Linked DNA regions of Homo sapiens: all the other regions are linked to region 3. The links are contacts of gene promoters, found by promoter capture Hi-C in blood cells and fetal thymus (Javierre and others, 2016). All regions are on one chromosome and are shown on one strand. The core of a region is centred on a gene start or on the middle of the fragment in contact, and the rest is flanking DNA. Distances in the headings are between cores, read along the strand shown.

The links. The method cuts DNA at HindIII sites, captures the fragments that hold promoters and counts their contacts. A CHiCAGO score of 5 or more calls a contact.
Region 1: a contact is called between a fragment that was not itself captured here and the fragment with the promoter of C1orf21 in region 3, in 2 of 17 cell types (M1 macrophages and megakaryocytes). The highest score is 6.1, in M1 macrophages.
Region 2: a fragment that was not itself captured here is called in contact with the fragment with the promoter of C1orf21 in region 3 in 3 of 17 cell types (M1 macrophages, M0 macrophages and megakaryocytes); the score reaches 6.3 in M1 macrophages.

Annotation. Positions count from the first base shown.
Region 1 is chr1:184,568,240-184,572,321 of GRCh38, reverse strand. The region is part of intron 3 of C1orf21 (chromosome 1 open reading frame 21); the gene reads right to left. Among named protein-coding and RNA genes, the nearest start is that of C1orf21, 180 kb to the right of the region's middle. The HindIII fragment of the contact is 8,987 bases long and covers 1-4,082 here.
Region 2 is chr1:184,631,120-184,634,745 of GRCh38, reverse strand. No RefSeq gene overlaps it. Among named protein-coding and RNA genes, the nearest start is that of EDEM3, 120 kb to the left of the region's middle. The HindIII fragment of the contact is 2,912 bases long and covers 309-3,220 here.
Region 3 is chr1:184,385,019-184,389,092 of GRCh38, reverse strand. It overlaps C1orf21 (chromosome 1 open reading frame 21), which reads right to left and starts at 2,064. Exons shown (of 6, transcript NM_030806.4): 1 at 1,725-2,064. It overlaps C1orf21-DT (C1orf21 divergent transcript), which reads left to right and starts at 2,389. Exons shown (of 1, transcript NR_172919.1): 1 at 2,389-3,340. RefSeq lists silencers at 2,029-2,288, 2,319-2,428, 2,519-2,578. The HindIII fragment of the contact is 4,352 bases long and covers 1-3,755 here.

The DNA of each region.
Region 1 (4,082 bases), core at 576-3,075, 180 kb before region 3:
ATAATTGTATGTTGTAGATGATAAACTGCTAGAATACAGACACAATCATGCTTAATTTGTTCCTTACATGAGGTCTTATGTATATTCTTCACTGATGTTCCCTTGATAATCTGATAATGGAGAAACACAGCTTTTGATTCCTTGTCTCTTATGGTCTCTTGTAATCATAAACACAATAACAACAAAAATAATAGCTCTCATTGACAGCACCCCTCCCAAGAGCCAGACACCTGACTAAGGCCTGTGGACATTAACTGAGTTAGTGCAGATGAAATGCCAGGCACAAGTCCTGCCATGTGGTAAGAGCCCAATAGATGCCAGCCATTACTATTATTGCTGTTATCTGTATTAATTGTTATCATTCAATCCTCATAACAACTATATGAGGTAAGCATTCCCACAGTTGAGAACATTAAGAAGAACATCAAGGAAACAAGGCCATAGAGTTACTGGTCAAGAGGGGATAGAAACTCTGCATGTCCATCTTTTTCAATAAATACTTTACATTCTTAAAAAGGCCAAATCTATATAAATTAAAGAGGATGAGGAAAAGAGCAGTCCACATATTTTTAAACTCCCCCCTTATGTTCCAATATCTAATGATGAGAGAGGTCTGGAAGGGACACACAATTTTAATGACAGGGCAAGAATCCTGGAAATCCCCCAATGGCCATAGATGATAAACAGCAGCTGCCCCTTTCCAGCCCAAAGCAAGTCAAAGCCAGGCAAGTCATGGAAAGGGATGAAGTGTCTCCAGCAAACAACAGGGGGTAGAGGGACCAGGTATAACTGGTAAGATAAAGCCTACTCGAAAGGCAATCAAAATTCTTCTAAACGGTCATTCAAGTTGACCAAGTAATACATATAGCCGGCATTGATACTAGGTAAAGCCAGTTGTTAAACACAGTCACATGCTGCATAACAGCATTTTGGTCACCGATGAACTGCATATATGACAGGGGTCCCGTAATATTATAATACTGTATTTTTACCGTACCTTTTCTTTTTTTTTTTTTTTTTTTTTTGAGACGGAGTCTCGCTCTGTCGCCCAGGCTGGAGTGCAGTGGCGGGATCTCGGCTCACTGCAAGCTCCGCCTCCCGGGTTCACGCCATTCTCCTGCCTCAGCCTCCCAAGTAGCTGGGACTACAGGCGCCCGCCACTACGCCCGGCTAATTTTTTTTTGTATTTTTTAGTAGAGACGGGGTTTCACCGTTTTAGCCGGGATGGTCTCGATCTCCTGACCTCGTGATCCGCCCGCCTCGGCCTCCCAAAGTGCTGGGATTACAGGCGTGAGCCACCGCGCCCGGCCTTACCGTACCTTTTCTATGCTTAGAGATGTTTAGATGGACAAATACTTATCATTGTGTATAAACGCTTGCAAGATTCAGCTCAGTGACATGCTGTACAAGTTTGTAGCCTAGGAGCAACAGGCTATACCATAGAGCCTAGGTGTGTAGAACCTGTGTAAGTTCACTCTATGAGGTTCACATGACGACAAAAATCACCTAAGGATGCATTTCTTTGAACGTTTCCTGGTCGTTAAGCAACCCATGACTGTGAATACGCCACTTTCATTACATCTGGCAAGATGTTCTGCCTTAGCACTCAGTTGCATTATTTTCCTTTTCTTTCCTGTTCACTATGCTTTAATTCTGAGGACTATAGGAGGGTAGAATATTACTTTTTAAAAACTTTAAAAATGTGTCTAAGCACACCCTTTTCTTAAATTGATGACTTGATGTTAAAATATTATTTTTCATGTCATTTATAATCTTATCAGAATCCATTTAATGAAGTTTGGTTAGACTTCAGTGAAAATTATCTTCCAGAGTTGTTTGCCCTGCCTGAGATATAGGGGTAACTTTACTACAATTAGTATGTATAGTGCAGAATTTCATGCAAGGGGACTGTGGCAGCAGTGTGATAATTTAAACAACATTACAATTTAAACATATTTAACAATTAAACATAAACATATTTAACACATTTCAGCATATTTAACATAATTTAAACTTATTAAACATTATTTAAACATTCAAACAAACAAAACAAAAAGGATATACGCGCAAACTTGCTGCTACTTAGATCACTGCAGCTTCTAGGATCCCATGTCTTTTACTGATTTAAAAACACAGCGAAAATAAAAAAATAAAAAAGTTGTGCCTGAAAAATATATATTTAAATCTTATTTAATATAGTATAAAATTTGTTTGCCACCTCTACCTAATTCCTTGTTCTAGGGTGAACAAGGCAGAATGATATTACATAACTAAGTGGCAGCTTTTCCCTCAAATAAATATCCTTTACCTATTATCAAGAGGAAACTGCAGTTTCGAGGATGATTTGGATAGACCAGACTGCAGTGTCCATGCTACTTTTTGAAGACTCAGTTAAAGGGCCCTAAATTCTTGGCTTCTGTAGGCTTTGGCTTAGGACATATGGCTATGCCATAGTCCTCTCCACAGCACAGTGACCTCTTCCTGAACTGACAACAGTAAGTCCTTTACCAACCCTAGCTCACTGTTCTGACATCCCTGGCCCCAATCTTCAAAATAGTACCACCCTGTCACAGCCAGTTTCTATCATCATTCTGTCTTGTACAAAGTTTTATTATCTATTTTATTTTTTAGGGATGGAAGTCTTGCTATATTGCCCAGGCTGTCCTCGAACTCCTGGCCTCAGGTGATTCTCCATCCTTGGCCTCCCAAGTAGCTTGGACCAGAGGCACCTGCCATTGCACCCAGTCTGGAGTTTAATTTTATTTTTTCCTCCAAATTAAGTAGTTGTCTATTTAGGTAATTTTATTTGAAAGGAGAATACCATAATCCAGAAATGAATGAGCATTTCCTCATTTAACCTTCCAACGTTCAGCCTCTGACAAAGTGTAAGGCAAGTAACAGAATTTAGCTTATCTGTATACAAAAGGACTTTCAACCACGCTCTGGAAAATGTGCACACTTTCATTTAATGACCACTGATGATGGAAATGAGAAGCAAGTGGCAATGGGAACTGCTGCTTCCTTGTCCAAATTAGCGAACCACCACCTGCTCTACTGCTCTGTATCACTGGAACAACTCCAGTTCCTCCAGAGACTATGAAAAGGAACTGCAGAAGCTAGTCAAGGTAGCATGGTACACTCCATCAGGCTTGTGAAGAAAAGCAAAAGAAAACACCATGCTGACGCCCTCTCATCCTGGGTAGAACCACTGTCTCCCTCCCTATTCTTGGCAGAGACTTATCCCAATGCCTTGGCTTATCTGTTTACATATCTGTCTCTTCTTACTACAGGCTCCTTTAAATGCTTCAACTTAATAAAATGCAAGCCCCTAAAGACGGTGTTCACGTCTTATCCATCTTTGTATATAGTAGGTAATGTGGTAGGTACTCAATAAAGGTTGAAAGAAAGAACGAATGAACATTTGTCCTCCTTTACTTGTGTGCTACACGGTTCAGTAACATTAATCCCACTCAGAATGAAGCTGGGCACAGAAAGGGCAGAATGACCTTTGGAGCTGAGGCACAAGAATGGAGGACCATCAAAGAGAAGGAGTGGTGCTTTCATTGTAACCTTGACTAAAATTGTGACTGTGGCTCCATGGGAGAAAAAGAGAGCAAGAAACAGCAGTCACCCCAGTGCATGGGCACCATCACTTTTAAGCTGAGTTATAAGAACCTCAGGGTGTTTTTTAAAAAATAGGTTTTAAGTTACTTCAAGGAGGAAAAAGAGCTTAACATGCATCATTTTACTCTAAATATCTTTGAAATATTTTCACCATAAGACTTTTAGGTTGTAATGCCAATAAATATCAAATATTATTCCCTTATAATACTCACAGTATCACATAAGAACTTCTCTAAAATGCACAGCAGCCTGGAGTAGTCAAATTCATGGAGACAGAAAGTAGAATGGTGGTTGCCAGTGACTGGGAACAGCGAGGAAGGAGGAGTTAGTGTTTAATGGGTACAAAGTTTAAGTTTTGCAAGATGAAAAAAGTCCTGGAGATGGATGGTGGTGATGGTTGCACAATAATGTGAATGTACTTAATGCCACTGAACTGTATTCTCAAAAATGATTAAGAT
Region 2 (3,626 bases), core at 515-3,014, 250 kb before region 3:
GGCAGGAACTCAGGGCTGACCATGTTTCAATGTGGGAAGAGGCCTCACTGTGCCCTGGGGTCTTCTTACTTACCCTGAGGACTCTACTTATTTCTACTTTGGAGGCTACTCAAGCTTTTCTTTTCCAATTACCTCTAAAGGGGGAAAGGGGAGACAGGTGTTTGAAGCCACTTCTGTGGCTTGTAGCAGGAACCAGAGAGGGCCCAGGGCACGCAAATCCCACTGTATTGGCAGAAACACAAATACACAAATACCAGATGGATAATCTCAAGGATTAAAGAGGATTTAGGGTGACCTGATTTAAAGCTTCCTTTTTTCCTTTTTTGGGCAAAGCCTGGGAATAGGGGGTGGGAACTCAAGACAGAGCCTTGTTAGAGTCTTGAATTTTCACTTGTAGAGTGATGGAGCTTTGGGAAGGGGTTTCTCCTTCATGTTTGATGGCATCACATGCCATCAAACCTGATCTTTACATCTAAAACCCCATTTGTATTCCAGTCTGATAATGGGAGACTTGCTTGCCTGTGGGCCCCAGGTTGAGTTTGTGATTGACAAGAAATGTCCAGAGGAGTCTTCAGTGGACACAAAAAGCCTCTGGGAAATCAGCCAGCACTCCACCCAGCATCCCCACCCCCTAGATGGGCCACTAGGGAGCAGGATGGTGGCAGATCAGTCTCTACAATGGCTTTTTATTGGATTTTCTCTGTTGGTTGTATTCCAAGCTGTCAGTCCCTGATAGGACAGCAAGCCATGAGAACCTAGCGTCAAGTTGATGGCCAAGTGCCGAGCATACCAATGACCAGAACTCTGCAAACAATTGGAGCAAGTGCTTGAAATTCCAGCCATGAGCCTGGCCGCTCCACATGAGAGGATGCATATGTCTTGGGTAACATACCGGTTGGCAATTACCAAACTCACTGGGATGATCTTTTACCAGGAATCCAACCACTGCAGCCCCCATTATAGTAACAACCCCTAATGCCCCTTCCAAAGGCATCAGGTGTGTAAGTCCTGCTTTTCTGTTTATTCAGTGGAGGGGACCCTGCAGAGAGGATAAGCAGCTACTGTCCTCAGCCCCTTTAAGCCAGGGATCCCTCCTTCATACAAAAGTGTTCCTGGGGATTTGCTTTCCTTGTGGTTTGTTGGTCATGTCTTATAGGGAAGGGGCTCATTGCCTGGATGCCTATTCTAGCCTGAATGTGCCTCCCACGGCCGGCGTGTTCTGAGGGATGGGGGTCAGCTGGTTCAGGAAAGGGTAGGACAGGTCTGGGCTGTTGCCTGAGGTTAGCTCAGGGGGATAAAACTCCTGTACAGTAAGGGAGTTCTCAGCAGAGGTTAGCAGGTCCCCTGTCAAGACAGCTTCAAGAATTCTTTCTTCAGGATGGCTTGAGCAAAAGCATATCTGGGACCCAGCTGAATTGAGGCTTTTCCCTAGCCTGAACTCTTGGTCTTGTAGGGGTTGGTTCACTCTCTTGTCCTATTTCAACAAGAGGGACGCTCCTTCATGCATCACTGGGGAGTCCCTGCACAGAACCTACTCATTCGTGGCTGCCTATTCTCACCACCTTCTCCTGAAGGATTCTTTTGAGTTCCTTTCCCGGGCTCTTGCAGCCCGTTGGAGTACGTGTTTGCAAACCTGCACCCTATCATCTCCAAGTTCTTCAGAGGCAGGCTTTAGTCTGTTCAGCTTTGTTTGCTGGTGCCCAACTCAGTGGCATGCAGGGTGGACAAGTTGTTCTCAAACACTCCCTGTGGCTCGGTTGCCTGAGGTGAGATGATATTTACAATGCCAATGCTGGGCCCCATGCCCAGAGATTCTGACTCAACTGACCTGAGGTCTGGACATGGGCCGTCTAAGCTCCCCAGGTGATTCTAGTGTGCAGCCATGACAGAGGCCCAAAGGAGACCATCAATGAATCAACAAGGTGGCTCTGACCAAGTGACACCTCCTTTTTTCTCTTTCTGGTGGTGAGGAAGCAGATTCTCAACCTCTATTCATCTTTAGCATCTATCCATGGTTAATACCATTTGTTTGAGCCATACAACTCTTGGAGAACCAACTTCTGGAGGGAGACCTATTGGCAGGCATGTCTGAAACTGCACTGAAGAACTCACTGAGTCTTATGAAATCCCTGTCTGCAACAGACTGCGTGCTCTCATTCTCCTCCAGCTCTACTCTGTACCTGCCACTGTTTACTACACTGTAGATCCCGGCTCCCAAACTTGGTACTTGTCAGAATCCCCCACTCCAGTAGTTACAAATGAGACCTTTTGAGGGGTCAGATGTCAGAGGCCATGTGTGTGTGTGTGGGTGTGTGTGCACGTGTATGTGTGTATTTCAAGCCTCCTCAGTGATTCTTCTTATGCATTTGCAGAGTGGGACCTGCTGTCCCAGGTCATCTCAGCCAGTCAGTCAATGTTGCTCAAAACTCTGGGGGGTGCTCTCCCCTGAGGGACTCTGAGTCCTTGTGGAAAGAGCTGTGGCAAGTCCAAAAGGGCTGTGTGTGAGGGTCTGGTGGGTGGGGGGGGGGCAGGCAGCCCTGGGGGGAACATATATGTGGACAAGATGTTTTGTGCCAAATTGTAACACACCCAAGAAGACTGAATAGAGCCTCATCCAGGGCAAAGATGATGAGTGAGATCTGATCCGAAAGCAATTGTTGAGGTCCAATCCCACATGCAGCATACTAAAGCTGTGGGACTTCAGAGGAAGAGACAGTCTGGGACTTTGGATTAGTAACATGATGTGATCGGAGGAAGTTAAAACTTTGTCTCCTTCCCATGTCATCTACATATGAAAACTAGAGACAAGGACACAGAAATAGGAGATGAAGCAGATTTGAAAAGCCACCAGAGCTCTGAGAGGAGTGGTGCCCATTCCCTGTCACACCGTCACCGTTCTCACCTGTGGCTGACTGCAGCACCCAAAGCTCAACCAGCTGCAGTCTATCACCAACATGAAGTTGCTCCTAGAGCACTCTTTGTTCCTTTAAAAATGATAAAATAGTACAAGCACGCAGGAGTATAGAGAATATTGTCCCTATGTCTCCATATTTTCTTCAGCTGATGTTTTAAAAGACTAGAACATTGTTAACCCTCACCTGTGCCATTTCCTGCCTTCTTCCTGCTCTTCTGAAATTGGTATTTATGTTTTCCATGTATGTTTTTATACTTTTACTATACATGTAAGTATCCACACATAATAGATATGGTTTTGCAAGCTTTCAAACTTTATATAAATGGTGTCATACTGTATCCTTTGTGTGTTTTTCATTCACTGTTGTATTTCTGAGGTTTATCCCTATTGATACAAGATCAACTTCATTATTATTTATTTATTCATTCTTTTTCTGAAGGGTGCTAAGATTGTGTCCCATTTTTTACTGTTAGAAATAATGCTATAACATTATTTACAATGTATGTTCTGTAGCCATGTCCTTAAACACAGGTGTTCCACTCTCTGTGATCATCGCGTCTCTCAGACCTGCTCCTCACCTGGCCTAGGCTCTGCTCTGGGGTCACCCTTCCTCAGCATGGCAACTTGGCTCTTGAAGACCAAGTTGCACTTGAAGACCAGGTCTTACTCACCAGAATTCTCCCTGGATCATCCTTGTCAGGGATTCCTACCC
Region 3 (4,074 bases), core at 815-3,314:
CAGCATTGGTTTAACGCCTATAAATACACTCCGTTGTCCTATCACTGGTACTTCCTACTTTGTAAGTAGCAAAACAAAAATAGGTGATCCAATCCAAATTAATTTCCATGTCTGACAATTACATTTCCAAACAGCCAACATGGAACATGTTCTATTGATCCTACAATCCAGCTCTAGACAATATGAAAAAGGGGGGAAAACTCCAAATTCAGCATCTTGAACTTAAAAGACCCTTCAGAAACATCACCTTCTCCCCACAACAGTGCTGAAGTAGCTCAGGCCCACTCCACCTATGTTTGTTTCTATCCTGGTACATTCCAATTCTATCAAATCAAAAGGTTATTCCTATTAGGCAGAAGCTGAACCCATCCCCTTGAATAGGGAGGTGTTCATTACATCTGTCTGTGTAATGAACTTGTCATTTCCCCAAACGGTCTGGACAGTCTCCTACAAAAAAAAAAAAGAAAAGAAAGAAAAAAATACTCCATGGAATCTATGGTGTGTCAGTCCCCTTCCTAACATCTGAGTCAGACTACGTGTGTCTTTACTGAGGTTCTGGGTGCCCAGGGTGTATCACTTTCAGAATTGCTTCAGTAACTGAACTATGGCTGTCTTCCAGCCACGGACAACACAAGCACTATCTATTTTAAAACAATTTTCCTAACCCACCGGCAATGGAAGAGATCCCATAGGTCACCGACTTCCTATTGAAAACAAATTATTTCTCTCTCAAACTGCTTGCCGTCTCTCAGAATTAATGCGTGTTTATGTGTGCATATTTTTATCTTTGGCCATGCAACTCTTGGAGCAAAGAGGACCACCCCAAATTTTACCGACATGCCTGAGCCATTCAGAGCTTTAGAAGAGAAATGAACGAGTGCTGAGAGCCCTTAAGCCCAGGACTTCTCTCACACAAACAGTAAGTGGAAAGGAAAAAACAAAAACAAAAACAAAAACTAACCCTCCGTAGAGGGAGGGAGCAGGGTGGATGATAGGGAAAGGACATTAACCAGCAGACCAAAGGCAGCCGCGGCGGCGGCACTTCGCGAACTGCCTGCAGAGGAGAGTGAAATCTGTTTCGTGTACAATAACCAAGCACCCTCTGGCTGCCTCGCATGGGCACGAATAATAAATACACCGAGGTGGGCAAACAGATGCAACGAAACGAGCCACCCCAAAAAGGTCAAAACTTCAGAAATCCCGGGGGTCAAACCACCCACACAAACACATCAATCAGTCGGAGCGAGAGAAGGGACTTGGATACTTAGCAAAGGATCCTAAATTGTGTTTTTCCTTTCAAGCTCTGGCTTGCAAAGTACGGTGGCTACATGCAAAGCTAGAGGAGAGCAGGAAGGCTGAGGGCGGCAGGGTGCGGGTGGGAAGGGAGGGGTGTCTAACACCAGCCACCCAGGCCTCGATGTGACGAAAGTCGTCAGCAGCCCCGACCACATCCCAGCCCCTCCGCCCAGGCCGGCAGACGCCCCTCGCGGCTCCCCCACCCCAGCTTCCGTCCCTGGCAGCAACCCCGCCAGCCCCGCACCAGCAGCAGCCCCGGCCCGGGCCCCGCGCAGGCAGCGCCACGACCGCGGCTCCCATCCCTTCCGTGCGGCAGACACCCCGCAGGCCTCCCTCCCTGCCCACCCGGGGATGCCCGGGTAGCCGAGCCGGGGCGGGCTGCACCGCCAGCTCCCCCCGCCCCAGAGCAGGCAATGGCTCACACTTACCTTGGGCGTTCGCGGGGGGGCTGAAGGTGGCAAGCCTCCCGCCCCCCGCCCCTGTCCTCCTCGTCTTTTTTCTTCCTCCCTCCTCCTCTTCTTCCTCCTCCTCCCCACAGTGTGTCCGGGGCTCCCCCTCCTCCCCGCCGCTTGGAGTAAGAACCCAAAACCCCGAAGCCGGGCCCGCGTGCAAGCGTGCGGGAGGCGGCGGCGCGCGGCCAGCTCTCCAGTAACTGAGCGCGGCGCGCAGCTCCCAACTAAAGTGTGAAAGAAGCAGCGGCCGCGGCGGCCGCGGCACGGAACGTCCCCCCGGGAGTGGGCAGGGAGCGAGCGGGAGCTTGCGAGGAGCGAGCGAGGGAGGGGAGCTCCTCGCTCAGTCACTCACTCGAGGGGCGGGGGCAGCAGACACTCCCCCACCGCCGGCCCCTCCCCGAGCCTAGCTCCCGCGCGCGCCTGGCTCTCCTCCCCGGGGCGGGGCCTGCGGAGGCCGCCGGGGCGCAGCGCGCTGGGGAGCGGGTTGGGGGCTGCTAGGGCTGCGGGGCGGGAAGGAGGCGGCAGTGTGTGTGTGTGTGTGTGTGTGTGTGTGTGGGCAGGTGTGTGTGTGTGTGTACGTGTGTGCGCGCGCGCCCTGCAGCGGCCGGCCAGCCGGAGGGAAGACCCCGGCGGGAAGACTGCGTCCCGTCCGGCCTTCCCGGGCCTGTCACTTGGGCGGTGGCGTGGGAGCGGCGAGGCTGCTCGGGGGGCAGCCGGGTGGGCCCAGCTCTAGGGGAGATTCGGGTCAGCCCCTGAGCCCAGCCTCCCGGCTGTGCCTGCTGGAAGCAGACGGAGGGAAGGCCGGGCGTCTTTGGCCCACCGCGCGGCCGCTCCCCTCCCGGGCCAGGCTGAACGGGCGGGCGCAGCCCAGAGGCCCGGGCTCTGCCACCGATCCGCCTCCATACTGACCCGAGCTGCGGCGCCTGCAAGATTAATGAAGCATCCGCGATTCGGTAGAGGCGGCACGGGGAGGAAAGACACAAGATCGTGCTGCCCCCCTCTCCCCACCCTTCTCAGCCTCCTAGGACCTAAAGGCGTAGGCTGCGTCTGCTGGGCGCGTCCGGAGTGGTCCAGAGAGATCGCCATCCACCACTGCATCCGTCCAGTTCTTTGTGGACCCTCACAGAAGCTCAATCAATTTCCCACCCTCTGGAAAAGGGTATTTTTCTCTTCCCTGGCATATTGGGTGTTTCTTGTGTGCACCTAATTGATCTTTTTCCATTGATAGCCTTTGGATGTCTTTTGTGCGGCTTCCCCGCGCTTCACTGCTCCCTCATTGCCTTAGACACGCGAGGAATGTCAGGCCCCCAGAGTGAGAACACCCAAGAAAACAATAGGGGCAAAAGATCCTCCCTGGGCCTCGCGGATTATGCACAAACCAGATCATTTCCCACATTCGGCCAGGGTGAAGATGGAAAATGGAAAAGAACGCCATCAGAGTGGTGACACTGACGAGAAAAGCCAATTCATAATTTAGTTTAATGAAATGAGTTAGTAATCAACCACTAATGTCTAGGAAATTGGCCTTTTTTGAAAACTGGTTTTCCCTTTCTCCACCCCTTTTTTTTTCAAATTAAAAGACTAGTATCCCACTGTTGTTGTTTTAATTTTTATTGTTTTCAGGGATGGGGTCTGCTGCCAAGGCTGGATTCGAACTCCTGAACCCAAGAGATCCTCCTCAAGGGATCTTCCCCATCTCAGCCTCCCAAGTAGCTGGGACTACAGGCCAATTCCACCGCACCCTGCCTAACATCACATTGTTCAGGAACCTCAACTTACATTCCATTTTTACAAAATATCCATATTCTGGTTCATACTTCTTGGAGCCCAAATTTTTTGTAGTCTAGCCTCTTGGAAAGGAGCGGTTAAGAAGGGAGGGTAGATAAATTGAGATTTCAATCAGGGGCAGCCAGCCCCATCCCTTTCACCACTGGTGACTTGTTTCATTTCTTCTTTCTTTCCTCATCTGTAAAGGCATTGATAATGATCGTTCCTACCTCATAAGCTTGTGAAAGTAAAAAGAAAATAAAACGAGGTGGCAATGCATGTAAAACACTTTGCATAGTGCCTGACACATGGGTGAGAACTCAATAAATAGAAGCTATTGTTTCAGACTTGATTATTTTAAACTCAAATTTGGTAGAATTTTATTCTCTTTCCATTCCTTCTGAAAAGTTAGGGAGGAGAATGGACACAGCTGATGGATTTATTCAAATGTAGTCCACTCTTCCCTTGGGTTTTTACGCCCTGCCTGAAACTTTTGCCTGTGGTAAAATGAAATAAATACATAACTGAGGGGTGTGTGTGTGTGTGTGTGTGTGTGTGT